Linked DNA regions of Homo sapiens: regions 2 and 3 are each linked to region 1. Evidence: promoter capture Hi-C in human tissues and cell types (Jung and others, 2019). All regions are on one chromosome and are shown on one strand. The core of a region is centred on a gene start or on the middle of the fragment in contact, and the rest is flanking DNA. Distances in the headings are between cores, read along the strand shown. Region 1 holds the start of CCR1 (C-C motif chemokine receptor 1). Region 2 overlaps SLC6A20 (solute carrier family 6 member 20). Region 3 has its middle 14 kb from the start of LTF.

Region 1 (3,754 bases), core at 423-2,922:
AGCAATGTCCCAGGGAATGTGAATGCTGCTGGTCCAGGGACCTCACTTTGAGAACCACTGCTCTAAAGGACTTCCTCACCCCTTCCCACCCTCGATGCACCCTTCCTTAGCCCAGGGTATTTCCCAGGCCACTACAAAAGCTGTTCCTCATTGTGGTAACTTGGTTAATTGTTTGTGATCCTTCCTAAGCTATAAGCTCTCAAAGAATGGATCCAGCCTCTTTCTTCACCACTATATCCCAAGCACCTAACACAATGTCCGGCACATTGTGAGTACTGAATAAATATTTGTTCAATGAACAAGCAGATTTGCCTGGTACATCCCCTCTGTGGAATGAAACCTAGAGCAGAGCTGGAAGCCTGGTCAAGGATGAGGTACTGACCATGTCCCTTACTTTAGACAGGATCAAGGAAAAGGCAGGCCTCACAAGCCTCTGTTCTCTTTGGAAACTGATCCACCAGCAAAGTACTGCAAATAGCCAGGCACATGCAGACCCCCATTTATTTCTTTGGGGTGAAGCTGAGTGATGATCAGATGTCAAGCTTAGGCCATCTTGTCTGAATTCTTCATTTTACAGATAAGAAAACTGAACCATGAAGAGACAAGTGATCTTTTCAAAGCACATTCACACTGATGATTTCTGAAACAGTGCTTTGTAGCAATGCCGTGAGGAAGGTTAGGGGTGTCCCCACTTTATAGAAGACACAAGGGCAGAGGCAGAGTAGGTGTTGGCAGTTGTGAGGAGAGTCACAGTACTCATCATTTGTCAGACATTTTTCACTGTGCCAGGCACTCTGACATTTTTCATGTACAAGTTGACTTCGTGCTTCTCCTCTGAGGTAAGCATTCAATACTCCCATTTAGCAGAGTAGGAACCAAGACTTAGAAAGGTGAGTGATCTGCCCATGTCACAGGTGGAGAGCTGGGATTTGAACTTGGCCCATGTTTGACCATCACGTAAAACAGGAATGGGGCATCAGAAAGGGAAGGTCAAAATGTAACCAACAGACCTATATTCCCTTCATGCTGGAGGTTCCTGGGGCAAAGCCACTCTCTGAGGTTTGGTGGGGAGGGACTTGGGGAGCAGAGAGCAGAGGGACAATGAGCTCCCAGAAGCCGAGGGGCATAGGGTGCCAAAGAGAAGCTGCTGCCTCTGTGAGCACCCATGTCAGTTAGTTTTGAGGAACAGGACTCAGGGTTCCAGTTTAAATCCTTCCATTCACAATCTTTAAGAAGAAGAAAAAAAAGAAGTCTGCCGCTGACCACAAGAGCTCTATGCCCTGCCCCCATCCCACATACACACATCCCACACTTCAATTGCTCCAAACATTCTGGGAACATCTCACTGCCACCCACCTCACCCAACTCAGCTTCACCTGCCCCCAATTCCCTTAAGGCTGAGCTCCCAGGGCCAAGACTCAAGAGGCTCAGAGTGAGCAGAGAAAATCCTCGCAGTTAACTTGGCTTCCAGGAAGTGGCCACTGGTGGGCGTTGTGGCCATTCATGAGCACCAAACCACACAAAAAGAAGAACTTTGTCCCTTTCTTGTCATTTTGAAAGACTGTGAAACTGGAGCCAATTCTCCATCATCACACAGGAAGCTGAGTACTTCCTACTTGGTCAGGATCTTGAAACTTGAATTCATAAAAACCCAGAAAGCCCCAGAAACAAAGACTTCACGGACAAAGTCCCTTGGAACCAGAGTAAGTGTCACTTGTCTTTTCTGTCTTATCTGTTACTGTGGAGGGCAGTGTTGTTCAAAGACATGCATGCAGCTAGGGGCTCCTCAAAGGTAGGGGGAATTCTTTGAGTAGGCTGGGCAAATGTCTAAGTAGCCCATGGATGCATCTCCAAGGCAATTAATACTGTAGCAATACTGAGAATGGTGGATTTATAAAGCTGGGTGCTCAGATGAAATATAGGCTTTTTTGCTAAAAAGGAAGCTTACTTGAAGGATTGGCTTTTGGTTACTGATTAAGAAAGTCAGTCAGTACTAAGGGACAAAAGGTGTTTTCTGTGGAAACCTATTCAATAAGAAATTACTTGGCGGGGCGCAGTGGCTCACGGCTGTAATCCCAGCACTTTGGGAGACCGAGGCAGGTGGATCATGAGGTCAAGAGATGGAGACAATCCTGGCCATATGGTGAAACCCTGTCTCTACTAAAAATAAAAATTAGCCGGGCATGGTGGCGCATGCCTGTAGTCCCAGCTACTCAAGAGGCTGAGGCAGGAGAATCACTCGAATCCGGGAGGTGGAGGTTGCAGTGAGCTGAGATTGCACCACTACACTCCAGCCTGGCGACAGAGCAAGAGTCTGTCTGAAAAAAAAAAAAAAATTGCTTGCCAAATTCCCCCATGTAAAGGAAAACCAAACATGGTGTATGAAGAAATTATAGCAAGAGGGAAATATTAGCTAGAAAAATCTTGGCAGATGCAAGGATGATTTGATACTGAACCTATCTCTTAAGAAGACTAGAACCAAGGATCCTCAAAATTGGCACTGCTATCTTTGGAAGAGGTAGGCTTTCACTCACCCAAAGGCAAGGAGCTGGCCAGGTGATCTTGGGGGGCATCTGTTCTGCTCTACTAACAAAGACACAGGTCAGGATTTTGTTCTGAAGATAGAGGGGCATGGTGGCTCCGTATAGGTATCTACTTCATAGGTGGTCTTGGTGGGTCCCAGATTTCAAAGAAGAGATGGAAACTCCCAAAAGTTTGCACAACCTGGCACCAGGCTATGTGCCACTCACTGATCCTTTAGTTCCCGCACCGAGCAGTGGGACAGTGCTGGACTGTTCAGAATGTGGGGCCTGGGCAGTGATGTGCTGGTAAATGTTCAACAACTGACTCTTCTGAAGAAAAGATCCCTGCTTTATAACATTTGTTGATTTTCATGGTATAAATGCCCCCACTGTGGTCAGTTTCAAGCTACCAACATGCTGAATGTGGAGTGGGGAAGAGATGCACGCAATTGGCATTTATAAACCAGTATAAGCCAGCCAGCGCACCATAGGCCTGGGTGTCTTTCACCATCACAGACTGCTCTATCTCTGCTCAGAGACTTCACCAACTCCCAGGCTGGAGGACACTAGCAGTGGAGGGTCCAGGATCCAGGGCTATAGCTGACCACTGTGCAGTGGCCTTGAGGCAGACTTCTGCAGTAGACTACAGCAGGGCTGGCAGATTAGATGACAACATGGTCCTTTGGTTTCTCTTCTCGGGCCCCACCCCAGATCACCTCCCTTTAGGAACAGCATGCCTTGGAGTGGTTGCCTGGGGCTTAACAAGTTGGGGAAATAACAAATGGGTTGGAGGTAGGGGGTGTATGGAGGTGACTCGGTTTAAAATGCCACCTGACAATGTTGACTCAACTTGCCTTTGCCTTTGCCAAACCTTCCCAGAAACTGGACTCATGGGATCAGGCTTGCACTAGCTGCTCTTTGTGCTTTCCAAGCTATTTGCATACTTCCACTGTTAACCTGCCAGCCCACCGAAAAGTGCTGACTATCAAACCGAACTGTCTGCCCTCATCAGCAATGGCTGTGGCTGCAGAAATTAGAAACTGCCAACACAGCTTTGTTAGTGACCGTTAGCCTGACTCTCTCCAGAAAGAGGGCTGATTGGATCTCTCTGGAGATGGAGGAGTGGGCCAGGGGATGGGTTTGATAAAAAATTAAAGCTCCTCACTTCTCACCCTAATAGAGTATCTCCCTTTCCAGCCAGGGTGCCCTATACCCTCCATGTGCCTTAATTT
Region 2 (3,754 bases), core at 614-3,113, 450 kb after region 1:
ACTGCAACCTCCACCTCCCAGGCTCAAGCTATTCTCGTGCCTCATCCTCCTGAGTAGCTGGGATTATAGGTGCACACCATGATGCCTGGCTAATTTTTGTATTTTAGTAAAGATGGGGTTTCCCCGTGTTGGCCAGGCTGGTCTCAAACTCCTGACCTCAAGTGATCTGCCTGCCTTGGCCTCCCAAAATACTGGGATTACAGGCATGAGTCATTGCGCCTGGCCTTCCTGTTCCTGAATTTCATATGAACGAAGTCCTATTGTACACACTCTACGTCTATTGTCTTCACTCAGAATCTACCTGTGAGATCCACTCATGTTGTTTCGAGCAGCGATCGTCTGCCCCTTTTTGTGCCTATACAATAATCCATTGTAAGGTGACATACCACAGTTTCTTTATCCATTCTGCTGTTGATGGACATTTCAGATCTTAGGAAATGAGCTGGCTTTTCCAATTACATCTCTCATGGTTTCACTCCCTGGCCCATCTGCTCCACTCCAATCAGGCAGTGCCTCAAGGACCCTGTGGCCTACACTACTCCGTCTCTGAAAACACCATTCCTTGACATGCAGGATGAATCAAACCCAGCTCCCAGGCCATCTCCTTCAAGCCCCGACCACTCCAGTTGGAGTTGCCCCCACCTCTTCAGAGTGCTGCAGCACTTAGACCCCCTCCTCAGGCCTGGTCTTTGTAGCCAACACTAGGTGTGCCCATAGCCTTCAGCCAGCGCATGGCCCCTTTCTCCTTGTGTGTCCCCGTCGGGATAGCAGGAGGGCTCGGTAGCTGGCAGTGTACGGTGTGCTAGTGGAAAGGGCAGGTGTGGGCTCTAGACTCAGACATGCATGGGGTCCCCAGGGAAGGCAGCTGGAGGGGCCTGGGATGAAGGCCCAGGTTCTGGAGGCTAAAGGGCCTGGGTCTGAATCCTCACTCTGCCATGGATGTGCTATGGGATGTCGGGGGAGCCTTAGACATCTCTGAGCCTTGCCTTCCCATCTGTGAAAGGGGGCTCCGGACACCTGCCTCAGAGGCCTAAGGGTCCAACGCATTGCAAGTGCCTGGCACAAGGGAGGATCTGGGTGGACATTTGTCTCTTCCCTGCCCCACCCTCTTCTGGGTGGAGGCAAGTCCTCTCTAGGAAGTCCTGATGGGGCCACTCCATATTCAAGCCTCCTCCCCTGATTCATTTCTCATGAGCTCCAGGGCTGAGTTGTTGGGATAAACAGCGGGGGTTATAATTGTAGACCCACAGCCTGGGCGGGATCCTGGAATGACAGTGCCCACTACGTCTGCTTGTTCATTGAGCTTTAAGCTCTGCCACCCCTGCAGGGCAGCTCAGTGAGTCAACATCAGTGACCCCTGCCAACACGCTTCGGGACACCATTGTGCCCCCTGCCCCACACACGTGGCACACACCTTCAGAGAGTCCAAACCATGACAGCTCTTTCAACCCATGTGGATGAAGCAATCAGCCAAAATTCCCTGAGGGCCGACGACCCCACTGTCCTGTAGAGAACTGGTAAGCAGTAGTGGGGGGGTCTCGGGCAGGTGAGCAGCTGGTCTTGTGGCCCCCAGGTCTGGTGTGCCTTGTCAACTGTGCCATTGGCATGGTGTTCACGATGGAGGCTGGGAACTACTGGTTTGACATATTCAACGACTACGCGGCCACACTGTCCCTGCTGCTCATCGTGCTGGTGGAGACGATTGCCGTGTGCTACGTGTACGGGCTGAGGAGGTGAGGAGGCCCAGGACCCTCATTTGCATAGGGAAAACACAGCCACAGAGGCCACGCCCCTCAAGGAAAACAGCTGTTTCTTGATGCACATCTTCACCTCTTCTTTAAGCTTCGCATCATGACTCAACGTTTGTTCTTTGCCCGCAGATCTCAGCTTATGCTCTGCCTCTATTCCATGCTCAGTTTGCTTCAGTGAATATCTTTTTCTCTATTCCCTGTACTTTTGCTTTGTATCATAGGCTGTTTTAGGGTTGACCCTGCTGGACCCCCACAGCTTACTGGGGCAGGGAATTGTGCCTCCAGGCACTGGATGCTCTGATCATCGGCCAACATCAGTATTTTCCAAGAACCCTGACCAAAGTCCAGTTGATAACTTAGACCTTAGAAAATTTGGCAGATTCAAAATTTAGTCAGTGAGGTTCTCAATCCCAGTGCACAGCACGGGACTGGAATGTTTTAGTTCTCCCCAGGTGATGGAATGTGCAGCTGGGGCAAGAGCCACTGGTCTAGAGCAACCTTCAAACTCGAGTGTGCCTCAGAGTCCCTTGGGCTGGTCAAACACAGCTGTGAGACTCACCCCCAGGGTTCTGATCAGGCAGGCCAGGGGAGGGCCAAGAATTCACATTTCTAGCAGGTTCCCAGATGAGTCTGGCACCCACACTTTGAGAACCACTGGCCTAGAGAGCTTTGCTACCTCAAGTGTGGTCCCTAGAGCGGGAGCAGCAGCAACAAGGCGCTCGTTGGGACTGCAGAAGCTCGGGCCCACCCCATCCTGCTGAATCAGATCCTGTATCTTCACACTATGTCCAGGGGGCCTGAGGCACATCACAGTTTGGGCAGCGCTGCTCTAGTGGGTGCGGTTTGGGCGAGGAGGCTGTGCCACGTTGTTTTCTGCCCTCTTCCCCAGTCTTTTTGATCCTCTGTGCTGGTTCAGGGTGGGGAGGGAGACATTGACAACACTCTGGGAGGCAGGCATCCCTGAAGCAGCAATCCCTGCTGTGTCCCCGGAAAGGCCAGGGTCCCGTGCCATGCTGAGGGATCTCCCATGATCCATCAGGACATAAGTTAAACAAAGCCAAATTGATGTCTTTCCCGTAGGACTTCTCAGAATCTTAAAGACAGTTGTGGATCCCAAAGAGAGGGTTAGAATTGCAGCATTTCCAGACTTACTTGGTCAAGGAATGCCTTTTCACCCTCCTCTCACCCGACTCCCACCCTTAGCTACTAACATTTTGAGGACACTAGTGTTAAGGGGACCAACTCTCCCTGTTTCCCCAGGATTGAGGGGTTTTCTGGGACGTGGAACTTTCAGTACTAAAATTGGGAAAATCCCTGGTCACCTAGGAAATGCCAGTCTAGAGGGAGAAAGAGATTGGTCACTGAGAGGGTGAGTGTTTCAGGATAAAAAGAGAAGGTTGGGAGAGAGGAACAGAACCTAGGGCCCGCTGGAGGTCACTAGATGGGTGAGGGGCACAAGTCCATCAAAAAGGGGCTGGTGAAGGGAGACAGAGGCAGAAACAAACGTGCCTTGGAGATGTCGTAGGTGGACTGACCATGTAAGTGGCAGGAGGGGAGTGCTTCGGCTTGCTCAGGTGACACCGCCATCTAGTGACCACCCAGCAACAGTGTCCTGGGGCTTTTCTGCAGCCAGCTCTTCCCAACTTTCTCCATCCAGGAAAGGGGGGGGGGTTATGGGGGTGTGAAGGGACAAGAGGACCCCCAACACTTTTTCACCTGTCTGATTTTGAAAGCCCCAGGTTTTCGTGTCACATACATGAGCCTTCATGGCCTGCAGCCTAGAGTCCAACTACGTCAGCAGCAGCAAAGGGCAGGTGGTGGTCGCCACACAGCCTCGCATGGACACCCAGGACATGCAGCAGGTCCCAGGGAGGGAGGGGCTGTGGCTGCAGCTGGTGACGTCACACCCACACCACCCCAGCCCCTCCCGCCAAGGCTGCCTCTTCCGCTGTAGGGAGCAGGTTTAAAGGCTCTGGGCTGGAGGCAGGAGGCCAACCCAGGTT
Region 3 (3,754 bases), core at 431-2,930, 270 kb before region 1:
CAATGGGCATGGTGTGGAAACATCAGAGTGGGGTTTCAAGGGTAGTTAGGAAGGTTGCGGAGTCCAAACTCTGGAAATGTGAGAACAATCCAGGGACATGATACAGAGCATTCTACAAACCCCAGGAGCTGGACACAGCAATTTGTGTGAATAGGCATTGTTCTTGGAGGAAAATGAGCCCATGGTCCAAAAATTAGTTTTAAATAAAGTTCAAGGCCTCTAACTTTGGCTTTTATAGCAACAATGCCATTCTGAATGGCAGCGAGTCAGGGAGCTGGCTCTTCCACGATCCACCTGGGTGTCCGGGGTCTGTCAGTCTTACCATGATTAGAATGGAGCTTCTGATCCACCTCCTCCTCAATCTGCTTTATTCCCAGTCTTCCCCATCTCAGTTAATGAAACTACCTCCTTTTAGTTTCTCAGGCCAAACACCTTGGTGCCATCATCCACCTCTCTCCTTCACACCCCACATCCCCTTGTAATGTAAGCAAATCCCATGACCTCCTCCTTTAAAATATGTCAAGAATCCAGCCATCTCACTATTTCTCCACTGCCACATCCTAATCAAAGCCACTTCTGGCCGGGCGCAGTGGCTCACGCCTGTAATCCCAGCATTTTGGGAGGCTGAGGTGGGTAGATCACTTGAAGTCAGGAGTTCGAGACCAGCCTAGAAACCAGCCATGGTGAAACCCCGTCTCTACTAAAAATACAAAAATTAGCCAGGGGTGGTGGCACTTGCCTGTAATCCCTGCTACTTGGGAGGCTGAGGCAGGAGAATCGCTTGAACCCTGGAGGCAGAGGTTGGAGTGAGTTGAGATCGTGCCACTGCACTTCAGACTGGGTGACAGAGCGAGACTCTGTCACAAACAAACAAACAAACAAACAAACAAACAAACAGAAAAGCCACTTCATCTCTCTCCCAGGTCACTGCTGGAGCCTCCCTAATCATCTCTCTGCTCCCCACTTGTTCTGCCTCTCAGTCCATTCTCAGCCTTCTGCCTTGGCTCCTACATCCTCAGAGTAAAAGCAGATGGTCTTCTAGGTACCCACAGGGCCCCACAATTCCCGGGCCCTGTAATCTCCCCCTCAATCACTTGGTTCCGGCCAAACCCACTTTGTGGAGGTTGCTGGAAGATGCCAGGGTGGGAGAGAGGGGGCTATGGGGTTTTCCCTGCCTGTCACAGGTCAGGCTGCCCCTCCTCCAGAGCTGCCACAGGTGGGAGGCAGATTCCCTACCACGCACAGAGCCTTGGGCACAGGCGTGGTTCTCCATGCTTCTTCTGTTACCGTGGTCCATGGACATTCTCATCTCCTATGGTGGTAACTGACTATTCCCTTGTCTGTTGCCCTTGGGGGCAGAACTGAGTCTAACTCAGTTTGGTGACCCAGTACCTAACAAGGACCTGGTCCAGGATAAATGCTCTGTGAGGATGGCTTTAGTTGAGGGAACCCCTCTAAGTGCAAGGAGTCAGGAAGCTGGATTCTACCTGGCCGCACTGTGTCAGGTCTGAGCAGGCCACACGCCCTCTCTGGGCTTAGAGACCTCATTTGTAAAATGGCATAAAAAATATTATTTTCTGAGAGTGTCTGATTTTCTTGGTCAAATTATTTCAAGGTAGTAACCTCAAGCCAGAATATTTCCAAATATCCTGGAAATTGCTCACTTTTGTGACTCTTTCCTCCATTTCCAAATAGCCATCAGGTTCTGCTTCATCTACGAGGTCCCCAGGCCCACCCACTAGTTCCTCATTCTGCCAGTCATCTTCTGCCCTACCCTCTTCTGTCCTCCCCTTGGCCCTCTAGCATCTACGTTGCATCCTGCGGCTGCTTCCTCATCCAGCTGCACTGTCCAGGAAGATGGGGAGTGATGGTTAAGAGCGGGGTGGACCTGGCCTCACCCTTTGGTCCCTGGCACTCTCTAGGGACCCTGCTCATGCCTGCTGATAGCACTGTGGAGAGCAAAGTGTGTCACCTGCCCTTTGTCACCAACATAGCGACCTTCAGCCTCTGGGGAAGTGACTGAGTGGCCACATGGGTTCTGGGAAAGCTTCCCTTGTAGCCCAGAGACCCTTGGAGGGGGAGAGAGAAGATGTGTGGAGCAAAGCCAAGACTGACAGTCGGGACGCAGCTGGGTTACTGGTGAGCAGAAATTCAAGGAGGCTGCCCAGGCTGCTGAGAGGGGCCATTAGGAAAAGTCTCAGGGCAGTGGGGCGGGAAGAGGGCATGATGGTGAGAGAGACAGAGAACTGGAGAGAGAAGTGGACGTCATAAAAGAGAGAGGAGTGAAAGAGTTACAAAGGGTTGCAGATAACAGGACAGAATGTGGGCATAAGGAGTGTGGGTGTGGAGAGGGGCCCAAGGAATCACAAAGACAGATGTCTGTAAAAGGGCTGGGGCACGCTGCTGGGTTAGCTTGAGAAGGAAGACTGGGGAAAGTGGCTCCCGCTCGGCCCTCTGTCCTCCCTGTAGGGTGAACTTGCCTTTGCTAACACCTTCTGTTGGATTGTGACTCAACTGGAGCCGCCTGGGGAAAGGGAACTCTTTGCAGATTCCCAGGACTCTGCATAGGTTCTGGCTCACAACGGGGACCAGAAATGCATGGAAACAATAACAATAATAGTTAATATTGACTGAGTTTTCACTGTATGGTTTGGCCTTGTACTGAAAATCTTACATCCATTCATTTATTAATTCACACACCCATTCCTTCGTTCAAAAAATATCGATTGAGCAGCCCCTATGTGCTGGGCACTGTTCTAAGCATCTTTATAAGTTACTTCATTAAGTTCTAACAATTTTATGAGGGAGATGCTTTTAGTATTCCTATTTTCACATGGGGACACTGAAGCTGAGACAGGCTGAATGACGTGGCTAGATCTGGGGAGTGGGGAAGAGGTAGAGCTGGTTTCAAACTCCCCTGCCTGCGATGTTTAACCACTCTCATCACTGACCCTGCCTTTCAGGCACCAGACTACCCAGTGAATCAAAGGGACAAGGGAGTCGCCTAGAATGCAGGTGTGGCCTTGGGATGTGCTCAGAAGGGCCAGGCTTCATCTGGGCTTAGAAGAGCTGAGGGAGGAGGAGCCCTGGGCTCCCTCACAGAGGCAAGTGGAGGGAAATGGTGACTCTGAAGAATATTGAAAGAACTATCCGCCAATGAGAAAAAGCCTTACCAAATAATCAAACAATGGACAAAAGACATTCCCAAACAGAGTGGCTGAAATGAAAAAGACAGACAATGGCAGTGTTGGCAAGGATGTGAAGCCCCTAGAACTCTCATATACATTGGTGGGAATATGAATTGCTACAATTAACTTTGGAAAACTAGCAGAATTTTCTAAAGCAGAACGTAGTCATATGCTGTAAAACTCCATTCCTAAGTACATGACCAACAGAAAAGAATACATATGTTCGCTTCAGCACCATTGTAATAACCCCAAGTTAGAAACGACCAAAATATCTATTACCAATAGAATAGACAGGTAACTTTGGTACACTCACATACATAAAGATTATACAGAAGTGAGCATGTAAGAGCTATTTCTTTATGGAACAACATTGGAGAATCTAATAAACAAAATTTTAAACAGAAAACCTCAGGCACCTTCTATACAATTCCATTTATAAAAACTTCACACACAGTCATAATGAATACATTGTGTTAGATGTCAGGATAGTGATCACCTCTGGGGTAGTGATTGGAAAGAGGCATGTATAGAGTTTTTGTGGGCGGGTAATCTTCTCTTACTTTATT

Evidence for each region. The method cuts DNA at HindIII sites, captures the fragments that hold promoters and counts their contacts. A contact is called where the count stands out against the background at its distance.
Region 2: a fragment that was not itself captured here is called in contact with the fragment with the promoter of CCR1 in region 1 in 1 of the 25 tissues and cell types used here (bladder).
Region 3: a contact is called between a fragment that was not itself captured here and the fragment with the promoter of CCR1 in region 1, in 4 of the 25 tissues and cell types used here (IMR-90 fibroblasts, aorta, bladder and 1 more).

Annotation. Positions count from the first base shown.
Region 1 is chr3:46,206,231-46,209,984 of GRCh38, reverse strand. It overlaps CCR1 (C-C motif chemokine receptor 1), which reads left to right and starts at 1,672. Exons shown (of 2, transcript NM_001295.3): 1 at 1,672-1,703. The HindIII fragment of the contact is 6,364 bases long and covers 1-3,754 here.
Region 2 is chr3:45,760,892-45,764,645 of GRCh38, reverse strand. It overlaps SLC6A20 (solute carrier family 6 member 20), which reads left to right. Exons shown (of 11, transcript NM_020208.4): 9 at 1,574-1,733. Among named protein-coding and RNA genes, the nearest start is that of SLC6A20, 34 kb to the left of the region's middle. The HindIII fragment of the contact is 7,195 bases long and covers 1-3,754 here.
Region 3 is chr3:46,476,652-46,480,405 of GRCh38, reverse strand. It overlaps a transcript of LTF not described here. Among named protein-coding and RNA genes, the nearest start is that of LTF, 14 kb to the right of the region's middle. RefSeq lists enhancers at 1,480-1,979, 1,980-2,481. The HindIII fragment of the contact is 7,156 bases long and covers 1-3,754 here.